2 separate regions of the Homo sapiens genome follow, and region 1 is linked to region 2. Evidence: promoter capture Hi-C in 16 types of primary human blood cells and fetal thymus (Javierre and others, 2016). All regions are on one chromosome and are shown on one strand. Each heading gives the region's core, a stretch centred on a gene start or on the middle of the fragment in contact. The rest is flanking DNA. Distances are from core to core; before and after follow the strand shown. Region 1 overlaps DNAJC1 (DnaJ heat shock protein family (Hsp40) member C1). Region 2 holds the start of SKIDA1 (SKI/DACH domain containing 1).

The links. Contacts are between HindIII fragments. The CHiCAGO score rates a contact against its expected background, and 5 or more counts as called.
Region 1: a contact is called between a fragment that was not itself captured here and the fragment with the promoter of SKIDA1 in region 2, in 1 of 17 cell types (erythroblasts). The highest score is 5.6, in erythroblasts.

What each region holds. Positions count from the first base shown.
Region 1 is chr10:21,972,940-21,976,615 of GRCh38, reverse strand. The region is part of intron 1 of DNAJC1 (DnaJ heat shock protein family (Hsp40) member C1); the gene reads left to right. Among named protein-coding and RNA genes, the nearest start is that of DNAJC1, 29 kb to the left of the region's middle. The HindIII fragment of the contact is 5,267 bases long and covers 1-3,676 here.
Region 2 is chr10:21,524,202-21,528,046 of GRCh38, reverse strand. SKIDA1 (SKI/DACH domain containing 1) reads left to right here and starts at 2,365. Exons shown (of 4, transcript NM_207371.4): 1 at 2,365-2,500. RefSeq lists silencers at 428-586, 446-765, 776-895, 1,341-1,490, 1,611-2,030 and enhancers at 1,686-2,329, 2,330-2,973. The HindIII fragment of the contact is 4,259 bases long and covers 1-3,161 here.

The DNA.
Region 1 (3,676 bases), core at 347-2,846, 450 kb before region 2:
CCTTTTAACTCTCCCCCACTAATATGGTCTGTTGGCATTTTCCTATTATTTGACTAGCGTCTTAGGAATTATTACTACAAAGATTCAGTGACAAATAACTGGCCAGAAGAAGATGTGGCATGTAATTTCAGATGACAGTGGGATGATGTTGGTACTTTCAGGACCTGTGGGTAGTAGGGAAAAGACAGTGTAACAGTTAATAAATGTTTGTATGGATTGCCTTAGTTTACGACTGAACAATCACATGCTTTTATTATTGGCCCTACCTCATAGAATCAAAGCCTTTTACATATGCCAACATTTTACAATATGTTCATTACCAAATGTTGCATGCCTGGTTGGTATATACTTTTCTAGATTTTGTAGGCTATGTAAAAATTTGATCCTGGTTCTCAAATATGGATAAAGAAGATACATGACTGTATTTTGGAATCAGGAAGATGAATACAGTTTCCAGCAATAAATCTATTACTGTCTTTTGAAAAAAAATCTTATTGTATGGTCCTTCAAGATTCAAAGTTTCTCTTAAAAGTAATAAACTGTAATATAGATAAAGCTGCTTATGCAGCAGCTAATTTATGGACCTCTTCAGTGCATTTTAAGATTTCCCTATTATATTTTTGCCCATCTAAATATGTTACTCTTTCCCTAATTTTCCCATAATTTATCTAGAAGAAACTTGAGGTGAATCTAACTTTTTAAAAAAACCTTTAGGCCAAAAAAGTTGAATAGTAATCAATTCATAGTTTAATGAAGGACATGTGTAGTTTGAGTTTCTGGATAACCTCTCTTCCTTTGAAAGTGTTTCTTAATTAAAACCAGATGAGAGCAGCAAAGAAGGTATTCAGAACACTAAGTAAAATTAATGTGCTTCATGGAATTTGCAGAATTCATCAATACATGTAACAATGATTTATAATTGCATTTGGTCCTAACACTTATCAGTGTAGATCTAACAGAGGGACAGTAAGTAAGATAGCTAGTATGAAACACTAAGGTGAAAGGGTTAATTGGCCTTGCACAGTTCAATTTGCCACTCTAGTGGCACTTTCTATTGTCTGTGTAAACAGAGTTGCTAAGTACTTTCCCGCTAAGCTGCCACCCTTTTATTTATACAGTTGAACCACCAATGAGGAATGGATCAGTTTACCAGTTGTTAGGCCTTTTCTTCCTGCCTTTTCAGCCCACTTCATGTTTTTTCCCCCAGCTATTGCTATATACCTCCCTAATAATTCCTTAGTCTGTGATTTTGGTCTCTCTCTCTCACTCTCTTTCTCATTTATTTATTTATTTATTTATTGCAGCTTATTTTTTTCTCATATTCATTGATTTGAGCATTGGGATATTAATAACCTGGTTCTACTCCTTTATACCTCATTTCTTCTCGCCTCTACTCCCATTTTACCAAGTAAATTCTCAGAACTTGCTGCAACTCTTTCAAATAACTATTTTAAAGTAACATTTAAATAGCTCTTCAAAAATGAAAACATTACATATATAATGCTGAAGTCCTCTTTAACCAGCCTATACTGTATGAGTACCCCTAGTCCACTGTGAGTTAATATATTAAAATATATACTTCCATACCATTTTCATAATTTTATATCTGTGTATATATATTCATAAACATAATATGATATTGTTAGAAATTTACATAAATGATATTCTGGGAACATTTTTTCTTGTTTTTTTCACCCTGCATTGTATTTTTAAGATGTATACATATTACATAAGAAGTATACATATTACATTACATAGAGAAATCTACTTTAAACCATTAATTACTTCATAATATTACATTGTATTTTGCAGTTATCTACCTATTAATGAATATGTAAGTAACATCGTTTTTTCTCCATTTTAAACAATATCACAGTGAACAACCTTATAAATGTTGTCTTGTATATATTGCTACAGGTTTTTAGAGCAGTGTTTTCCAAACAGCAGGTAACGAAGGCAGTGTAGTAAGTTGGAGTCTGTACTTTTCAGAATAGAATGCAGTACAAAGTGTCAGGGTAAAAGGTACTTACTTTTTCATGAAATATATGTAATTGTGTTCTGAGTTGTGATATAAAATGTATTTCCTACTGTAGGTTTCAATAAAAAAGTTTATGGTGTGATACAAAATAAATTTTGTGCTGTGTATCTTAATCATAAATTTTGTGCTGTGCATCTTAATCGGCTCTGGATTATGTACCCAGAATGGGTTAGCTGCATCACGGGTTACATAGTATTTTGAATCTTCCTAGACATAGCAAAATTACTTTCCAAAATGGCCGTACTGATTTCACTCCCCATACCCTAATCGGTATTTGACATTCTAGTCAGACTTCTACATTTCCTATGTTCTTGAGGGTGAAAATTCCATTTTGTTTAAATTTTCATTTTAACTGGTTAGGTTGAGCCTAACTTCCTCATTACTGAAAAGAAAAGTGTTAAGACCTATCTGGTTGGTAGGTTACTATTGAAAATCATATTTCTTTTCCTTTTTTTCTTTTTTCTTTTTTTTTTTTTTGAGACGGGTCTCACTCGATTGCCCAGGCTGGAGTACAGTGGCGTGATCTCGGCTCACTGCAACCTCTGCCTCCCAAGTTCAAGTGATTCTCCTGCCTCAGCCTCCCAAGTAGCTGGGATTGCAGGCACGCACCTCCAGGTCCGGCCGATTTTGTATTTTTAGTAGAGATGGGGTTACACCATGTTGCCCAGTCTGGTCTCGAACTCCTGACCTCAGGCGATCCACCCTCCTCGGCCTCCCAGAGTGCTAGGATTACAGGTGTGAGCCACCGCACCTGGCCAAAAATCATATTTCAAGCTAGAGAAACTTTCATCTCCAGATCTTTTCTAACACTTCTTTTTTCTTTTTTTCTTTTTTTTTTTTAAGTAGTGAGCATAAAACTATGCAGCCTTAGTAAATAATTACCAAAAATAATTTTGTTAACTATGCACATTCAGGTTTTTCACACATTTGTTTTGAAACACAGTTCTTTTACCCAATATGATTAACTTCAGGTACAACTGCATATTTGAGGAATACTGATACAGCTCATTTCAGCAATTTAGATTCATTTCAGCAAAAAGTTATCATTTTCATCTGTTGTATAAGAGAAGATGGGTTCTAGCCAAGTGCTAGGAAATATTTATCCCTTTGCTAGGATCACAATAGAACAATAGAGTCTTGGTATTTAATAGAACATTTGAAAATAATTTTAATCTAATCATTGGTTATGTACCTTCAGCTGGATTTTCTCTGGTAATAGAAATATAGGACTTTCTTCATAGACGGCCATTTTCATTGTTAGTGTGGTTATTAAAACTTAACCTAATAACTGTCAGTTTCATTCATTGGTGCTACATTTGCCTTCAGGAGTCACATAGGAAAGACTGCTGCTGTAATTATGACAGTTCAAATATTGGAAGTAACAAGTTTTCTTCTTTGGTCATAGAAATTTTGATTTTTACAGAATTGATAAACCAGAATACACATCCCATAACAGCCCTGTTATTTAGGTAATGTAAATATAAATATGTATTTATTAATTTCATTTCTGGATTTATTGCTTCCTTAAGGCTTATTCACAAATTATCAGTTTTTAGTATTTCTTTACTTCAGTTAACTATGTGATTTATAAAGTTGTAAACAAAGCTGGAAGCTGATTTGAAAAATGGTGTCATATTT
Region 2 (3,845 bases), core at 1,116-3,615:
ACGTTGGCCAGAAATATTTCTTCCATATGCCTCACAAAGGAAAACAGACAGAGTTTATTAAGTGGATTGCAATTATTTGTTTCCAAAACGTGGCTTAAAAGCAAATTAAACGTTTTTCCCTTTTGAAATTCCCTATTTTGAAAACGCACTTCACGTTAAAGGAAGCCCGTTTTTGAAAGGGCTAGCTCAGCCTTTCCTTTTAAAACTAGACTTTCTGTGTACAAAGAAGAGCTGAGTAATCAGTAATAAGGATAGCGAAACGTGCTTTTCCGAATTCCTTTGAACCTTTTTTTAAATGGATTTTTGAATCCATACTTTTCAAGATATTTCAAATATTATATAATCTACTGTAACTTTCCGGATCCAGAATAATAACTGCCCACGGGTGTCTCTTATCTATTTATCACTTTATAAACATATCTATGTTGCTTTCCCTTTTTCTCATAACGTGTGCGTTGCAGGCTCGCCCGGCTTCCTTCAATTTCGCAGCACGCTGTAAAGGCTCCTTCCTCCGAGGTCTTCAGCTGGGAACCCCTCGCTGGCTGAGTCTGACCATCAAAACTTGCCGCGCCGGCCCGACCCGACCCGGCCGGAGCTCAGGAGCCCGGGGAGGCGCCGACGGGGGTCGGGTTGGCCCGCGGGGCCCCTCCCTCGGTCAGGACGTGCTCGGCTAACAGCGGTGCTAGGGCAGAACAATGGGGGCGGCCCGGCGGGCGCGAGGAGCCAGGTCCCGCTTCCTCCGGCGCGCCGGCCCCGCGCCCGGCCCCCGCCCCCCGAGGCCTTCCCCGCCTGCCTCTTCGCGCTCGCCAGTCCCGCCGCGCCTTCCTCCAGCTGCCCGGCCCGGCGCACGCCCCGCCGCCCGCACGCCTTCTTCCCCGCCCGGACCTAGCGGGCCCTCCTTCCCCCGATTCCAACCCACTGCGCTTCCTCCCAAGACTCCAGCTTCTTCCCCTCAGCCGCCGCCTTCGCGCCCTTTTCTGAATGTATTTTTACAATTTCCCCCTTCATTTCCAAAAGTGGCTGAGAAGTCTCGCTTCCATCTTAATGTTGATTTGCTATTTCCCTCCGGAAAAGATTTCCTCAGGAAACCCCAAATCTAGAAGGAAATACAGCAAACCCTAGAACGCTTTTAACCCTTAAGACATCTTGTATTAAAAGAAAAAAAAAGCATGTATGTCTTAAAACCGGCCAAAGAACCATCTCCTCGCTCTTTATTTCCTCCTGTAAATGCTATTATTTTAAACTCTCCATTTTAAACTCGTCCTTCGGACGAGAGGGCAGAGAATGTGCCCGGCAGCACGCAGCAAATCAGAGGTTTTATCTTACGCCTCCTGGGACTGGGAAAAAAAGTGGAACGTGGCCGAGGGAGCTTCCAGGGCAGAAAAGCGACACAATTCGCTGGGGACGCCGCTGGGCCAGGCCAGGCGGGGGAGGCGCGGCGGGGGCGTCGAGGGCTCTCGGGCTCCGGGCCGGGGCGCCGCTGCGAGGAGGGGAGGCGGTTTTAAGTCATGGGGGCTGGGAGGGCGGCGGCGGGTCGGGCGTGACGAGACTTTCGGAGGCAGGATGGGGCGGCGGTGGAGTTGCCTGGGCTTTCTCAGCACCCCCCCCAACACACCCAAATAAAAAAAGGAAAGTTAGAAGGAGGCGGAGAGGAGGACAGCCATCCCCATTTCCTCCCCGCGACGCCGCGGAAGGGCTGGGGCCGCTGCGAGCAGAGAGAGGGCGCGGGATGAGGCGGGCCAATCGCAGTCAACAGGTCCAGGCCTCAGTGGGGCAGCTGAGCCGGGAGGCCGGCGCCCCCTCCCCTCGGCTCCCCGTCCCTCCCCTCCCTCGCAGGCCCGGCGCGGTAGGGGAGGCCCGGCCCGGCCCTCCCCGCCCCGCGCGGACTCGCTGCGGCCGACTCCGCCGGGGCAGTCGGGGTGGGGGTGGGGCGGGGGTTCCCCGCCGGAGAATCCTCCCCCGGGGCTGGCGGCGGGGGCGGGGAGCGAGAGCCGGGAATGGAGGATTAGGAAGGACTCCAGCTCGGCACGAGCGCGGCCCGCGCGAGGGATCCTGGGTAAAAAGTGGCCGCGCGGCACCGGAGAGCGCGGAGAGGAGCCGGGGTCAGGGGTCACGGCCCTGGAGCCCCGCGTGCAGAGCCCCCCACGTGAACGCAGCGAGCAGGAGGAACCTTTTTGTTTTCGACCGCGCCAGCATGCTCCCCTATTGACCGAGCTGCTTTTCCTGGGCTGCTGGGGAGAGGAGCTCCATTGCGGAGCTCTTAACCCCACCCCCACCTTCCACCGCCAACACACTTCCCAACTCAACCCTTCCTCTCAACTCTCATCCCAGCCCCCCGTCCTGAGCTTGCAATAACGCAGTAAATTTGCTTTAACAACAAGTGGGGGTGGTTGAATTTACTCCTCCCTCTCCTCTCTCCTCCCCTTCCTCTTGCTGCGGTTCTTGACACTACTACAAACCAGGACTATAAACATAAACATGTGTCACTGTAACAGGGCAGGTAATATACGGATTTTGAGGCGGGGTGGGGTGGAGCGGGGCTTGGTCGCCGCTTGGAGGGCAGTAAAAAGTCGCGTTTCACGTGCTCGACGGCTTTGGGGACTCCCGCACACATCGATCCGTTTATATAATGCCGAAGGCACTTGGTCACTTATTCAGCCACGCAGACCCACAAAGCCAGACTTGCGGATAACCAGCGTACCCCAAAGCAAATGCATTTCAATACGAATCCCTCTCCTTTCCCAGCCAGTGCTGCCATTTCTTCTATTAGCAAACAGTAACGTGATACTTGAATCCCCTTTCCTTTTTAAAAATTCTTTTCCAGATAGCCATGAGATCATTTTTCGACCTAAATAGTACATCTCTCCCATAGCCACTACCTACACATTTTGTGCGCAGAAACCCCTTCAAACAGCAAGAAAGTCTATTTAAATGACTGAGTTCGAAATCTGGTGTGCAAAGGGTATTTCTTGGGCTTTGCCTCCGTGCATTGAGCAACTTCTGCTGCAAGTTGCTGACACTGGCGCGGTGGAGATCCGCCACAGCAAGCCTTTTTTATTATTATTTAGTCTATATCTGCCTCTCAACTTTTTTCTCATTCTTAGTTCAACAAGCCAGCAACCACTACTTAAGGTAGAGTAAAGCGAATCCCTTCCCAAGCTTTTTGGCTTGAAACGGAGGGAGATACAGAAAATGTTCAGATGGGGAAGTGGTTCCCTTTGTTCTTTCATTGTTTCTCTACGAACTGGTGGATACAAGGACAAACACTTACCTTCTCTTCTTTTTGCTCCACAAACCAGACGTTCCCATCAGCCTTAAAATACACAATCCACCTTGAAAGTAACTACGGATGTCGGGAGAGTTTGTATTCCATTCTTTTTCGCTCTCTGCCCTCTTTTAGCGTAGGATTAAGTTGCAGAGCACGTTGCTGCAAGCTGTAGCCCCCCCCCCCCCCCGCCTTAGTGAATCGGTCACGTTTAGGACCCTCTAAGTCCATCCTAATTCTGCCAGTAGAATTGAGGGTATTGGAGCTCTAAACTTTCAAAAGGAAAGGGGCCTGCAACTCTCCAGAAAACTTACAAATACCCCGAAATTTTTTACCATTGTGTTTTTGCACCACATCACCAAATAGTATTTGCCAAGAAATAATAGATATGTCTTTGAGAAAAAAAAATTTTTTTAAGTTTATACTTAGCAATGCGCTGCTTAGACAGATGTAGTAAAAGGCAGGTTTGTATCGGCATTTAACGGAATGAGTGCGTTTTCCATAACGTTTGTTGTGCCATGTGTTTTTTTAAAACACAAACAAAACACTACCCCAACTGAGAAAGGAAATAGAAGTTTGA